Linked DNA regions of Homo sapiens: all the other regions are linked to region 2. Evidence: promoter capture Hi-C in 16 types of primary human blood cells and fetal thymus (Javierre and others, 2016). All regions are on one chromosome and are shown on one strand. The core of a region is centred on a gene start or on the middle of the fragment in contact, and the rest is flanking DNA. Distances in the headings are between cores, read along the strand shown.

Evidence for each region. Contacts are between HindIII fragments. The CHiCAGO score rates a contact against its expected background, and 5 or more counts as called.
Region 1: a fragment that was not itself captured here is called in contact with the fragment with the promoter of PANK3 in region 2 in 4 of 17 cell types (erythroblasts, total CD4 T cells, M2 macrophages and 1 more); the score reaches 8.1 in erythroblasts.
Region 3: a contact is called between a fragment that was not itself captured here and the fragment with the promoter of PANK3 in region 2, in 1 of 17 cell types (naive CD8 T cells). The highest score is 5.6, in naive CD8 T cells.
Region 4: a fragment that was not itself captured here is called in contact with the fragment with the promoter of PANK3 in region 2 in 1 of 17 cell types (naive CD8 T cells); the score reaches 5.4 in naive CD8 T cells.
Region 5: a contact is called between a fragment that was not itself captured here and the fragment with the promoter of PANK3 in region 2, in 1 of 17 cell types (naive CD8 T cells). The highest score is 5.7, in naive CD8 T cells.

Annotation. Positions count from the first base shown.
Region 1 is chr5:169,602,044-169,604,752 of GRCh38, forward strand. It overlaps SPDL1 (spindle apparatus coiled-coil protein 1), which reads left to right. Exons shown (of 12, transcript NM_017785.5): 12 at 2,017-2,709. The coding sequence ends at 2,164. Among named protein-coding and RNA genes, the nearest start is that of SPDL1, 20 kb to the left of the region's middle. The HindIII fragment of the contact is 1,303 bases long and covers 731-2,033 here.
Region 2 is chr5:168,577,889-168,580,652 of GRCh38, forward strand. It overlaps PANK3 (pantothenate kinase 3), which reads right to left and starts at 1,480. Exons shown (of 7, transcript NM_024594.4): 1 at 1,368-1,480. The coding sequence starts at 1,395. RefSeq lists enhancers at 1,208-1,277, 1,368-1,911 and a silencer at 1,428-1,757. The HindIII fragment of the contact is 14,951 bases long and covers 1-2,764 here.
Region 3 is chr5:169,690,296-169,693,087 of GRCh38, forward strand. The region is part of intron 9 of DOCK2 (dedicator of cytokinesis 2); the gene reads left to right. Among named protein-coding and RNA genes, the nearest start is that of DOCK2, 54 kb to the left of the region's middle. The HindIII fragment of the contact is 2,807 bases long and covers 1-2,761 here.
Region 4 is chr5:169,628,344-169,631,043 of GRCh38, forward strand. No RefSeq gene overlaps it. Among named protein-coding and RNA genes, the nearest start is that of DOCK2, 7.6 kb to the right of the region's middle. The HindIII fragment of the contact is 3,172 bases long and covers 1-2,700 here.
Region 5 is chr5:169,748,697-169,751,399 of GRCh38, forward strand. The region is part of intron 23 of DOCK2 (dedicator of cytokinesis 2); the gene reads left to right. Among named protein-coding and RNA genes, the nearest start is that of DOCK2, 110 kb to the left of the region's middle. The HindIII fragment of the contact is 2,431 bases long and covers 60-2,490 here.

The DNA.
Region 1 (2,709 bases), core at 132-2,631, 1.0 Mb after region 2:
TGTCTTTTGAATTGCTTATCCTAGGCATTCAAAAATGGGCTTCAATACTTATTTTGACATTTTTACATATCAAAGCTAACTCATTTTCATTGTTTCCAAAACTTGAAAGCCTCTAGTTTCTGCATAATTGAGTTTGTGACTAAAAGAAATAGCGTCAGATATGTGTGTCTGAAGGAATTAATGTCCCAAGGGCTTTGTCTTAATAAAAATAATTGAGGTCAGAAGGTAAGAGAAAGTGAATGGAAGGGAAAGGTAAGTAGCAGTGGCTGAGGCTCGAGTTCTGGATGTGCGCAGCAGGAGAAGTGAATGAGGAAATTGAAGAAAGTAAAAGAAAGATGAAGGATGTCTGCATGCAATGGGATTGTTAGAGGCATTTAAAACAAATATCTAGACATTCAAAAAGATGTGCCAATAACTAGCCTAGATTATCTCCTATGAAATGAGATGTTGAAGGTGCTACTAGGGCTACCTTAGTCTTAGAGAGTGGAGACAGATTAATAAGACATTTTACTAATGTGCATTTGAGTAGAGAGAGTAAGACAGCCCTGTTTAAAAGGGCTTATATGTTTTATCTGATTTCTCTCCAAGTCTTCAGTGCTACTAAATGTAATATTCAACAGTAAAAGCACTTTAACAATGTTAGCTGCTATTATTATAAGGCATAGTAATTTTATTACTCCCTCCTTGGATTTTTATAGAATGTTATAACCTCTGAGTCACATAAAATAAAAGCTTACCATTCTTAAGGAAAAAGTAACTTCAAATGAGTATCTGCCACATACCCATGGTTTCAAAGAGTTCTGAAATGAATCCAGCAGATTATGCCTGTTTATATGTGATGCATTGTATAAACATCCTTGACCAGTGTATATTTCTGGAGGTGGATTTCCAGAATTGATAAGTGCCAGCCTTGCTATCTGTATTGTCTTCATTCCTTTTTCTGCCTTTTTTTGCTTGATAAAAAATCACTTAAGCAAATGTATGTGGCTAATTGACTCAAGTAGCACGTTGGAAACTTTTTGTCTTGTTCGTTAAACAAAAAATAAAATACCACAAAACATTTGTGTGTGTGTGTGTGTGTGTGAGTCCATCTGCTAACTTAAAATGTTTCCGACTCTTTGTTTTCTGCCTGTTTAACTTAGATACACAATCCTAAGATAATTTTGGAACAATAAATATGGCTTTTATTGGGAACTTCACTATTGCATGCTTTACAAAACTAATTGGTGTTCTTGTTACCGAGAATCTTTACAGGCCTTTAAGAATCTCTCTACTGTTTATCTTTTCTTTATTCTACTAGTTGAAACTCAATTTTTTAATATGAAACAAATAGACATCTATTCATGCAGCCCAAGATTCCATGTTATTTTTGTCTTGCCTTTTGTATGTCATGTTAACATTAAAATATTGCTGTAACATTTCAGTTTTTGTGTTAGGTGTGCTTATCATGATAGGTGCCCTGTCATATTTTCTTTAATTTAGGGCTTGCCATGACTTTTTAAAGATATTCTTTAGACTTAAAAAATAATTGGCCCAGCGTGGTGCCTCACACCTGTAATCCCGGCACTTTGGGAGGCTGAGGCAGGTGGATCACGAGGTCAAGAGATCAAGACCATCCTGACCAACGTGGTGAAACCCTGTCTCTACTAAAAATACGAAAATTAGCTGCATGTGGGGGTGCGCACCTATAGTCCCAGCTACTCCGGTGGCTGAGGCAGGAGAATCGCTTGAACCCGGGAGGCGGAGGTTGCAGTGAGCCGAGATCATGCCACTGCGCTCCAGCCTGGTGACAGAGTGAGACTCTGTCTCAAAAAGTAATAATAACAATAATTGAGCCTATTGATATAAAAAGACTTTTAGACAGCCAGTGACTTAATATTCTTACAGTATTAGAGTCAACTATATTTTTTTTCCTTGAATACCATGCCTTATTGGAGGCCCATTATACTGGGGGTTTGTTTCTTCAATCCTTCATAACCACATTTGAATTCAGAGTGGATGCTTTAATGCCTGTAGGTTAGCTGCTGAATCAAAGCTTCAAACAGAAGTTAAAGAAGGAAAAGAAACTTCAAGCAAATTGGAAAAAGAAACTTGTAAGAAATTACACCCTATTCTATATGTGTCTTCTAAATCTACTCCAGAGACCCAGTGCCCTCAACAGTAAAGACTTGTCTTTAATAAGAGTACGGTGCCACTTGCCTCAAAAGTTACTATGGTGCTTAAGATTGTCTTGATCTGACATATATCACCTTCTGGGTTATTTACTCATTGTGCCAGGACCTGGCATTTTCATGTGCCTTTGACCAAGTGTTCAGAATTTGCTTGACTCTAACCTGGAGAGCTTCTTAAGTGATGCCCCTTCATGGAGCTTCTATGACAGTGAATAAACTATTAATTGAAGGAAAATGTTATAATTAATGTATCTATTTGCTGCATTGTATATGGATTAAATGATAAAAAACAAGTAATCTACCCTCAGAGCCATGTATTTGAGAATGCTTCAATCATATTTTCCTATGTACTTTTTTTTATAAACTTAGTTTTAGACTATGTTGTAAAAATGGGAAGGTTGTAAACTATGTTGTAAAAATAGGAAATGTGGCTTAAAATATATACATTATATTGTTTCAGGATTTTGTCAGTGTTTAAAGAACCAATGTTCATCTTTGTATTTATATACATGATTTAAATTTTGTCTAAAATTTTAAA
Region 2 (2,764 bases), core at 230-2,729:
CACCTGTTCAAGATGCATTAGTTTAATTCAGCAAATGAAAATTTAAAGTCTCTCTATATTACTTTTCATTTAAGCCTTCACATCACTATTTTATAGATTTCTTGAACAACTATGACAGGATCTATTCAGTTATAAATAATTTTTTAAAAATTTTAATTAACAGATGAAACTACCAGATAAAGTACTTAGACAATGCTCTATGGGTGCAAGAGAAAGAACACTGTATTATGAGTCAGTCCCCTTAGAGTTATGAACCACATAGCACATGGTTGGTACATGCTTGGAAAAGTTACTCTGGGGCTAAGTTCAATTTCCTCACCTGTGAAGTTAAGACCAAATTACCTTACAGTTATATAGGAATTTGTAGTTTTCACAGGGTTTTGGCTTGTTGCCTCTCAGGTGAGTTTTACAGGAACCCCGATAGGCGGGCAGGGAAGGTGTCAGCGCCCTGTTTTATAGTTGTGGATTTCTTAACAGTTAAAGAGATCACATGAAACACTGTAAAAACAGCAAAAGTATCAATACGACTCTAAGATGAGCATGAATCCCCACGTTCCTAGTCCTTCTGGGAGGCTATACTTAAAAAGAGTGACAATCACAATGGCTGGGTGATTAAATAAGTCAATTACTGGAATAAAAGGTTTTTAAAAGACTAAACATAAAAGGAAGCAAATGAAAGTCGACCTTTCTAAAAGCATAGTCAGAATTTAAGTACATGCATAGAAAAATATCTACGGGTATTCACCATAATATTAATAGCGGTTCGCTCCGGGTGCGGGGAATACGGGTGACTTTATCTTTCTTGTTTATCTGCGTTTTCTAAAACAAACATGAACTAGTTGATATTCTAAACAAAAACAAGCCAAAGCAATTACACACTGGCAGACTGCATGCACGTACGTTTGAAAGCTCCAACTGTAACAACAGTGACAACTCCCAGGAACCCACCGGCATTTCAAGGACACAAGCAGGAAGCCCGGAAATCCCTAAAAACAGGTGCTAAAAGCCGCCAGCGCAACCTGACAGCCGCGACCGCCTCTTTTCAACCTGAATTCAGGGGGAGCTGGGAGAGGAGACTAGTCTGGTTTGACAAAAATCAGAATCAGAAATTCCCTCTGGCACCTCCCAGATCTCGAAGAGAAAGTGGGAGGAAAGGCTAGGGGGCGGCAGGCATTCACCATGCATGAATAGGGGGATGGGGAGGACGGAAGCCTCGAACTCGTGGCTCAAATGGTCCCTCCGCCCCCATACCGGACGAAGCGCCGGCGAGGAGCGACGGGCTTGGAAGCCGACCGCCCAGCCAAGGGGCTTTCAGACGGGGCCCAAGGGTGCCCTCCCAACCTGGCGGGCCCCAGCCCCCGTCTTACAGGGTTTCTTGGCATCTTTGATCTTCATGGCGTCGGCCCGAGGGGCGATGGACGGCCTCCGATCCGGGGCACTGAGAGCAGAGGCGGCGACTCCGGAGGTGGCTGGGCCGCGCGGCGAGGCCCGGCCGGTTCCTCCCCTCAGGCCGGGCGGGGCCGGCCTAGGGCGGGGCGGCGGCGCCTGAGGAGATGCCCGGCCCAGGGGGCGGCCCCCCACCCCCGCGAGGGGTGGCCGGGACCGAGCAAGCTGGGGAAGGCCGCCGGCCTCGCCGCTCCGGGGCCCCCCCGCAGCCGCTCCAAACAAAAGGCCCCGGTCCCCGGAGCCGCCGCCACCGCCGCCGCCGCCGCACTGAGAAATAGCCCGCCCAGGCCGAACGCCCACGTGACGCGAGCCCCCCCTCGCTCCGCTTCCGCCCGGCTGCTGGGGATTGTAGTTCTCCGGTTCGTGAGGCCCCGCTCTCTGGCTGTAGTTGTGCAGGTGGACTACAAAGCCCGAGATGCATCGCGGCCCCTCCTCCGAGGCCCCTCAGCTTCCGCAGATCGCCTCAGAGTGGTCCCAGCGAGAAGAGGGCTGGGTCTTAGTCACGCCAGCGAGGAGGCGACCAATGGTGACTGAGATGGGCGTGCTGGGGAAGTCGGGCTCAGACCTCAGCAGGTCGCGGAGAGAAGGGGGAATGAACTCTTCGAGAGGACTGTCATGGCTGTTCGGCCATTCTCAGATTTCCCCTTGAGACAGGAAAGCTGGTCGTCAGGCCATGGAAAGCGCTACAATCAGGGCTCTAGAGCTGTGCTTAAGATAGACCCTTGAGTACATTGGCGGATTAAAATTATTCACAAAGGAATCCTTTTGCTTAATAGAGACACCTTGAATGTTAGGGTCGGAATGATGACAATAGCAGGAATAGAGGTAACATCTATGGAACGCGTTATGTTCATGGGACTCTGCTAAGCACTTTGTGTGATTTACTTAAATTCAGGGGCCTTGTGGACCACGTGCAATTATTCATTTTATTGTCACTCATTTTGAAGATGGGGCACGGTCTGAGGAGTTAAATTGCTTGCTGAGCATTCTTTTTGCCACCGATCCATATTCCCCTGGGGCCCTCCAGCCCAGCTCTCTCCTTCTAAAGGGAAAACTGACTCCCAGAGAAGAAAATTTAGTTGCTCCAGTTCTCACAGTAAAGCCAGGACACCCTTTCCCCTTGCCTCCTAGAGTCTTAGTCCTCCAGCTGGAATGGGAGAAGATGGCATTGGGTATCTTCTCTTGGCCTTCACTTTTGTTGCCCAGTTAGATGGCCAGGAATTCTGTAGTTTTTACAATAGATGGATAGAGGGTTGGCAGTAGAGGATTGGGCATTCCAGTCAAAGAAACCCGCTTACCAAAGAGCCTTACTGCCCCT
Region 3 (2,792 bases), core at 108-2,607, 1.1 Mb after region 2:
CCTGTATTAGCTAGGGAAATTACAGAGAAGGAGCCAGGGAGGGATTTGGGCATTGACCAAACAGATGAGTTGGATCCAGGAGTGACCGACATGCTAGATTAACCTACCTTGCTCTACAATAATTTTTTGGTTACAGCCCATTAATTGCAATGTCTTATGTTATGTTGTGATTACATTGAGGAATAGCTGATTAATTTTGTTATTTTCTTTAAAAAATGGGCCAGAGGCATGGAATGGGATCATAGGTCCTAATTGCTTAGGCAAAGTTTTCTTGGCATATATAGATGTGCCTCCATCCTGTTTATCTGTTATTAGTTACAAGGAGGAGCCTATTTATTTTCTGGATAAATAGGAGAGTCCCACAGGCCTTCCTGATTAAACCACAAGACAGATGTTGCATGAGAGGGAGAAGAACGGGGAATCAATCAGTGGTTCATTTTGCAGAGAACCAATTCATGATGTAAACATGGGGGAAAGAGCATCAGTAAATTTGTGTCACACAGCATTAATGAGAATGTAATCCTGCCTTCATGGAATTCTGCCTGGGCCACACCTCCGCTCCTCAGAACAAGTGGAGTTGAGAGCCTTGGTTGACAGGCTCAACAGGTGGATGCTTCCCTCTGTTAAGATGATCAGTCTTGATCTGGGGGTGTATTAGTTCATTCTTGCATGGCTATAAAGAAATCCCTGAAACTGGGTAATTTGTAAAGAAAAGAGCTTTAATTGGCTCATGGTTCTTCAGGCTGTACGAGAAGGGTGATGTTGGCATCTTCTCGACTTCTGGGGGGGCCTCAGGAAAGTTGCCATCATGGCAGAAGGCAAAGGGAAAGCAGGCTTGTCCTATGTGACCAGAGCAGGAACAAGAGACACGGGGGAGGTGCTACACACTTTTAAACAACCAGGTCTTAGGAGAACTCGCTATCATGATGATAGCACCTTTGGTGTCATTTCTCCTGGTGTTAAACCATAAGAAAGCACCCCCATGATCCAATCACCTCCCATCAGGCCCCACCTCCAGCCTGGGGATTACATTTTAACATGAGATTTGGGTGGGGACAGTGATCCAGACCATATCAGGGGGCAAGGAAGGTGATGGTGCTCTCACTTCTTATATCGATCCAAGAGCTAGCCAATGAGTGCCTACTATGCATGTGCTCTGTGCTAAGCACTGGCCATACAGCAGTGAGTGCTTTCATGGTGCAGTGGGGTTAAATTCAGATAATAAAATGCATGCACAAATAAACAAGAGCAATGTCAGAAAGCAATCCAAGCAATGCAGATAATTAAAACAGGGTGATGTGATGGTATGTGACTGGAAGTTACTTTCAACTGGGTGTTGAGGTGACGTTTAAATTAGAGATGAGATAAGACTTGGCAAGCATGTGTCTTGCTGGCCTTATTTCCTCCCTCTCTGGATGTTAGCTCTTCCTGGTCTCCTATGTTGGGGGAAGGCTTCCAGATCTTTGAGCCTCTCTGAGCCTCTCTGAGCCTGGCATGTGGGTCCAGCTGACTGTTGACTTTCCCTATGTTTTGTTTTATTTATTTATTTATTTATTTATTTTTATTTATTTTTTTTTTTGAGATGGAGTCTTGCTCTGTCGCCAGGCTGGAGTGCTGTGGTGCAATCTCAGCTCACTGCAACCTCCACCTCCTGGGTTCAAGCAATTCCCCTGCTTCAGCCTCCCAAGTAGCTGAGACTACAGGTACATGCTACCACGCCCCACTAATTTTTTGTATTTTAGTATAGACGGGGTTTCACCATGTTGGCCAGGATGGTCTTGATCTCCTGACCTCGTGATCCACCCACCTCAGCCTCCCAAAGTGCTGGGATTACAGGCGTGAGCCACTGCTCCTGGCCCTTTCCCTCTGTTTTGTAAGGGTTTACCCCACAAGGCTATGTAAGAAGAAAGCAGCATATACTACGAGGTTCCCTAAGATTTAGCCCAGTTTTGGGGTGGTTGCTAACACACAGGAAACAAGAGTGAACAATAAAAGAAGCACTAATGAGTTCCTAAATCAGGTGATGCTTGTTAAGTTCCATTGCCCTGCTTCCCCAATACTTTCGAGTTTTGTAAGGCCGAAGCAGAAATGACTGGGAGACACCATAGATTGGAGCACAATTCTGTATGAGGATTGCCAGTTGACACACCCTCCAGAGAATATAATGTGAATATAGCATTTGGCTATTTTTTACACTTTAAGATTCTTTAGTGTGGAGGTGTGTGTGTGGGGGTGGGGTGGCGGGGGGGCGCTGTCCGATGAGACAGCTCTAAGAGGTCTGACATCTTCCTTTGAGCAAGTAAAAAATTGTTAAGAGAAGAAGGTGGAATGGGGGCTTACCTGGGAATCTTCTAGGTTTATGTAGTATATTAGTTTGCTAGGCCTGCCATAACTATCACAGATTGGTTCATGCAAACAAGAGAAATGTATTTTCTCACAATTCTGGAGTCTAGAAGTCTGAGATTAAGGTGTTGGCAGGGTTGGTTTCTTCTGAGGCCTCTTGCCTTGGTTTGCAGATGACTGTCTTCTCCCTGAGTCTTCACCGTGGTCTTCTCTCTGTGTTTGTCTGTGCCCTGATATCTTCTTATAAGGACACCAGTCATACTGACCAAACAACCTCTTTTTAACTTAATTACTTATTTAAAGACCCTGTTTCCAAATGCAGTCATGTTGTGAGACACTGAAGATTAGGTATTCAATATATGAATTTGGGGTGTGTGTGTGGGGGTGGGGGAGCAATTCAGCCCCTTCAAGTCTAGGAAGCTTTCAGGTACCAGGGCCTCTGTCGCTCT
Region 4 (2,700 bases), core at 71-2,570, 1.1 Mb after region 2:
TGTGTGATGTTCCCTTCCCTGTGGCCATGTGTTCCCATTGTTCAACTCTCATTTATGAGTGAGAACATGTGGTGTTTGGTTTTCTGTTCCTGCGTTAGTTAGCTGAGAATGATGGCTTCCAGCTTCATCTATGTCCCTGCAAAGGATATGAACTCATTCTTTTTTATGTCTGCATAGTATTCCATGGTGTATATGTACGACATTTTCTTTATCCAGTCTATCATTGATGGGCATTTTGTTTGGTTCCAAGTGTTTGCTATTGTAAATAGTGCTGCAATAAACATACATGTGCATGTGTCTTTATAGTAGACTGTTTTCTATTCCTTTGGGTATGTACCTAGTAATGGGATTGCTGGGTCAAATGGTATTTCTGGTTCTAGATCCTTGCGAGGCTGTGAAGAAATAGGAACACTTTTACACTGTTGGTGGGAGTGTAAATTAGTTCAACCATTGTGGAAGACAGTCTGGTGATTCCTCAAGGGTCACTTTTTAACTATTACTTTCTCAGACAGCCCTTCCCAGACCATCCCCTTTTCCACTCTCCCACAGTACTCTTTATACAATTTATTTTCTTTATTAAAATGTATTATGTACATGGATTTTCTGCCTTCCCTTCTAGCCTACAGGATTGATGAGAGTGGCAATCTTGTTTGTGTTGTTCCCCAAGATATATCCTCAGGACTTTTCACATGATGAGTTCTCCATAGACGTTTGTGGAATGAAGGAGCACTCAGCCTCTAGGAATGGGTGGAAGTCCAGTAAAGCCACAATTACAACATGGCATGCAGATGTGTATTGGACTTAGAGAAGAGATACACCCAGATGACTGGAGGCTTATTGCTAGAACATGAAGGCTTATGAGGAATCTATTGTCTCTTTCTAAACCAGATAATTGATTTCTCCAAAAAATCAAGAGATTGAGATTATTCAAGAGGCGCTCTTGGCTCAAGTAATTTGCTTTCTGCAGTAATGTCTACTATTTATACTTCTGAAATGAGAAGACCTAACTGGGTTGGTTTGCTATCACCCAATACAAAGCCTCCTTATTGGCCAGAAACTGTTGGCCTTTCTCGTTTGTAATACACCCACCAAGGTCTCAACTCAGTGTCTATGGGGACTAGGCAGGTAACTTAAATGAATGAAGCAAACTGGGTTTGTTGTTATTATGGCAACTTAAGAAGAACTTGTTCTATGTAGACCTACATCTAAGAATATTCTTCACATCTGTAAATATATACACCCTCTCCCATGTTTCCTGAAACATATATCTTTTCAGTCTCTCTTATTTTCCCACTTTTGATAGAACACAGGGCCAAGCAGTATTTCATTTTTGTTTTTATCTTAAGAAAAACAACTGTGTAAGCACAATGGTAAATAGCCATTGAAATTTGGCCTCAGCATTGGAGATTGTGGCAACTAGAGTGCATGTTCAAACTCAAGGACAGCTGCTGAAGCTGCCTCCAGCTGAAACTGCCTTGTGGAAATGCAGTGTCTACATTTATTTAGAGAGAGACTAGAAATCTAGAAGTTCAGGTAAAATCTCTTGATTGTTAATTGCTGGCAATTTTTAAAAACATTAAAAACTGTAAAATAAAATATGCTTGTTAAACAAATATGTCACCCTCCAGATTTGGCCTTTGGACTGCTAGTAGTTGGCCCCTGTCAAATATCATTGTTTCTAGATGAGTCAGTGCCAACGAGATGTGGAAAAGGAGCAGGGCTGATGTCACTGCACCCAGTATGAGCCTTGGCAGCTTTGCAGAAAGAGCCATTGCGACTACTAGACAGACCAGTAGTTCATGAGCATGGGCTGCCGCAGGAGGGTTGTCTAACTGGAGGGGGAATTGGGAGGTGGGGGGAGTCACCAAGTAAATCTTCCCAGAACTACTTAACCTAGAGGGCAAGAAGAGGTATTCCTATTGGAGGAAGGACTACAGCACACAGAGATCTGAGAATTGTGGCACTTCTAGGAAACTTCAAACAGCACCATCTTGTAAGAGTGTAGGGTGATTGTGGGTGTGGTGCAGGGAGGTGGTGTAAGAAGGGGCAGAGGAGGCAGGAAATGAAGCTGTCGGGGGGAATGATGGCCCTGCATAATATTCTTAAGACTTTTAAATAGTGTGCAAAAGTATTTGAAGGATGCACTGAAAGATATTAATCTGGGCCTTGACGTCTTAGTCTCACAGTTGAGGTAGATCCCACCGGCAGATGCCTACAGCATTAACTAGCAGTGGGCTTGAGGCTATTAACATTTTTAAATATATATACATATATATATACTTTATTTCCATAGGTTATTGGGAAACAGGTGGTGTTTGGTTACATAAATAAGTTCTTTAGTGGTGATTTGTGAAATTTTGGTGCACCTATCACCTGAGCAGTATACACTGCACCCTATTTGTAGTCTTTCATCCCTCACCCTCTTCCCACCATTTCCCCTTGAGTCCATTCTGTCATTCTTATGCCGTTGCATCCTATAGCTTAGCTCCCATTTATGAGTGAGAACATACAATGTTTGGTTTTCCATTCCTGAGTTACTTCACTTAGAATATACTTATGATAGAATAATACTCAGCCATAAAAATGAATGAATTAGTGACATTCGCAGTGACCTGGATGAGGCTATTAACATTCATCTGATAGAGCAAACTCTAGGTAAGCAGGAAAGCTCTTGATTCTCCCTATCGCCAACCCTCACTC
Region 5 (2,703 bases), core at 25-2,524, 1.2 Mb after region 2:
GTAACAAGGTTAGGAACATAAATACCCTCCTCTAGAATCCACTAGTAAAATACCCAAAAAGCTTCTGTTTTATGATGAGATAGAGGAGGAAGAGGTATAAATGATTAAAAATGATTTAAACCAAACTATGTAACAGGCTTTATATTTCATGCTTCACATATATTACTTTATTTCACCCTCTCAAAAATCCTCTAAATTACACATTAGGCCTGCCATGTTATAAAAGGATAAACTGAGGCTCAGAAAGCTGAAACGATGTGCCTAAGGCTACATGCCCACATCTCTCTGGTCAAAAGCCAAAGCTCCTTCTCCTGCAGCAAATCTCAAAGTCTATAGAAGAGTCCTTGTGTGGGATTTGCTGACATCACATGGGCTTCACCCCTCTGCCCTCATCACTAAGTTCTCTTCACATGGTACTGCTTTCCATATTTGAACATAACTTTAAATTCTTCTTTGATAACTTTTCAACAGCCATACACATAGGTGGAAAGCATCATTGGTTTTATGAAAATCCCTGAGGCTAAATTTGGCCCTTAGAGCAAATTGAAAAAGAGATGAAGCCCCTTTCTATGTCTCTGAGGTGGAAATCTATGGGAAGAAACCAGCATAATCTGGCCCAAATCACAAGGAAAACAAGGCATTTCTAACACAGCTACCCGGACAAGAAGAACCTGGGTAAAAAGACTTATGCCAAAACCATAATAATCATATGAGTTCTCTAATCCTAATATTAGGATTATTCTGAGTGTTGAAAACACAATGATTAGTGTGTCTTCAACTAATAATCATTTATTAGTTGATGCTTAATAGATATCTGTTGAATTAATTAATGTATAACACTAGGGATACGTCTTAAGGTTTCTATTTTATTGATGAGGGAATTGAAGCTCAGACAGTTGAAACAGCTTCCTCCAGGCACCATTGCTGAGAAGTGGGATGGCTCAGATTCATATCTGTTCCTGCCTGGCTCTAAAGACCATACTCACTACCACGGCATTAGCCTGTTCTTTATACTGTTTCTTTAGTCCCTGCTGGGGATGGATGTCTTCCTATGGATTAGTTGGGACTGCAGTCTTCTAGTTTTTATTTTTCCCTTACCCCCTCCTGGTTAAAAAGCAAACAAACAAAAAATGTATTCCTCATATTCCTAACCCCTTCATCATTCTCTGACTAAGGGGATAACAGGAGCAGGGGACAGCATGAGGAGATGCGGCAGGAGCCCCAGCCAGCCACTGCATCTGTATCACACTGGAAGCAACTGAGCTTCTAGTGAGTAGCCACACAGTGTTGGGATATCTGGAGAGAGCCAAGGATGACCAATTGCCATGAGAGAGGCTATAGGGTTGAATCAGGTGTGAAATCAGCTCCAAGGAAGCTGAAGTGTGAAAGAGCAGAAATGATGAGCCAATAGATAAAGCCAGTTTCTCATCCCAGAGGAGAAAGGCGCTGATGCCCCAAAGAAGTTGAGGTGCCATGGAGAGAAGAATGGAAGAGGGAATAGGTAATTTTGGAGCTACTCTTTCTAATTTCAGCACCTGTTTCCCTACGATGGGCTACACATATATTTGGGGAAGGAACAAAGGGAGAGAGACAGTAAGAAGGCAGGGAAAGAAAGAAGGAGAAAAAAAGGAAGCAAAGAGGAACAAGTGAGCATTTGCCGCTCTCAAGACACCTGGTCAATAGGAATGCCCTTCTTTATCAGCTGCATGACCTTACATTGGTCACTTAACTTCTCAATGCCTCAGTTTCCTCATCTATAAGATTTCATTGTGTGGGTGAGGATCAAATAAACATTGTCTGCAAAAGAACAAATTATAAAATGCTATGCAAATGCAGTGAACTAATATGATTATTATGGTTTTGGCATAAGTCTTTTTACCCAGGTGGTTCTTGTCTGGGTAGCTGTGTTAGAAATACCTTGCTTTCCTTATAATTTGGGCCAGGTTTGTTGGTTTGTTCTCATAGATTTCCACTCCAGAGACATAGAAAGGGGCTTCATCTCTTTTTCAATTTGCTCTAAGGGTCAAATTTAGCCTCAGGGATTTTCATAAAACCAATGATGCTTTCCACCTATTTACATAGCTATTGAAAAGTTATCGAAGAAGAATTTAAAGTTACATTCTAATATGGAGAGCAGTACCATATGAAGAGAACTTAATGATGAGGGCAGAGGTGTCAAGCCCATGTGATGTCAGCAAATCCCACACAAGGACTCTTCTATAGACTTTGAGATTTGCTGCAGGAGAGGGAGCTTTGGCTTTTGACCAGAGAGATGTGGACATGTAGCCTTAGGCACATCGTTTCAGCTTTCTCGGCCTCAGTTTATCCTCTGTAACATGGAAGGCCAAATGTGTAATTTAGGGGATTATTGAGGGGGTGAAATAAAGTAATATATGTGAAACCTGAAGTATAAAGCCTGTTACATAGTTTGGTTTAAATCATTTTTTAATCATTTATACCTCTTCCTCCTTTACTTCATCATAAAACAGAAGCTTTTTGGGTATTTTACTAGTGAGGATTCAGAAGGCGGGCATTTGTGTTCCTAATTTTGTTACACAAGACTAAATAGTGTTAGGATGTTCAGTTATTCAGTTAGATCAAGAAATATAAATATACATTCTTAAGAGAATAAACCCACAAGAAGTGACTGTATGAAAACATGCATGGGAAAGTTTCAGCTAGTGAAATAGTACGAGGTGACCG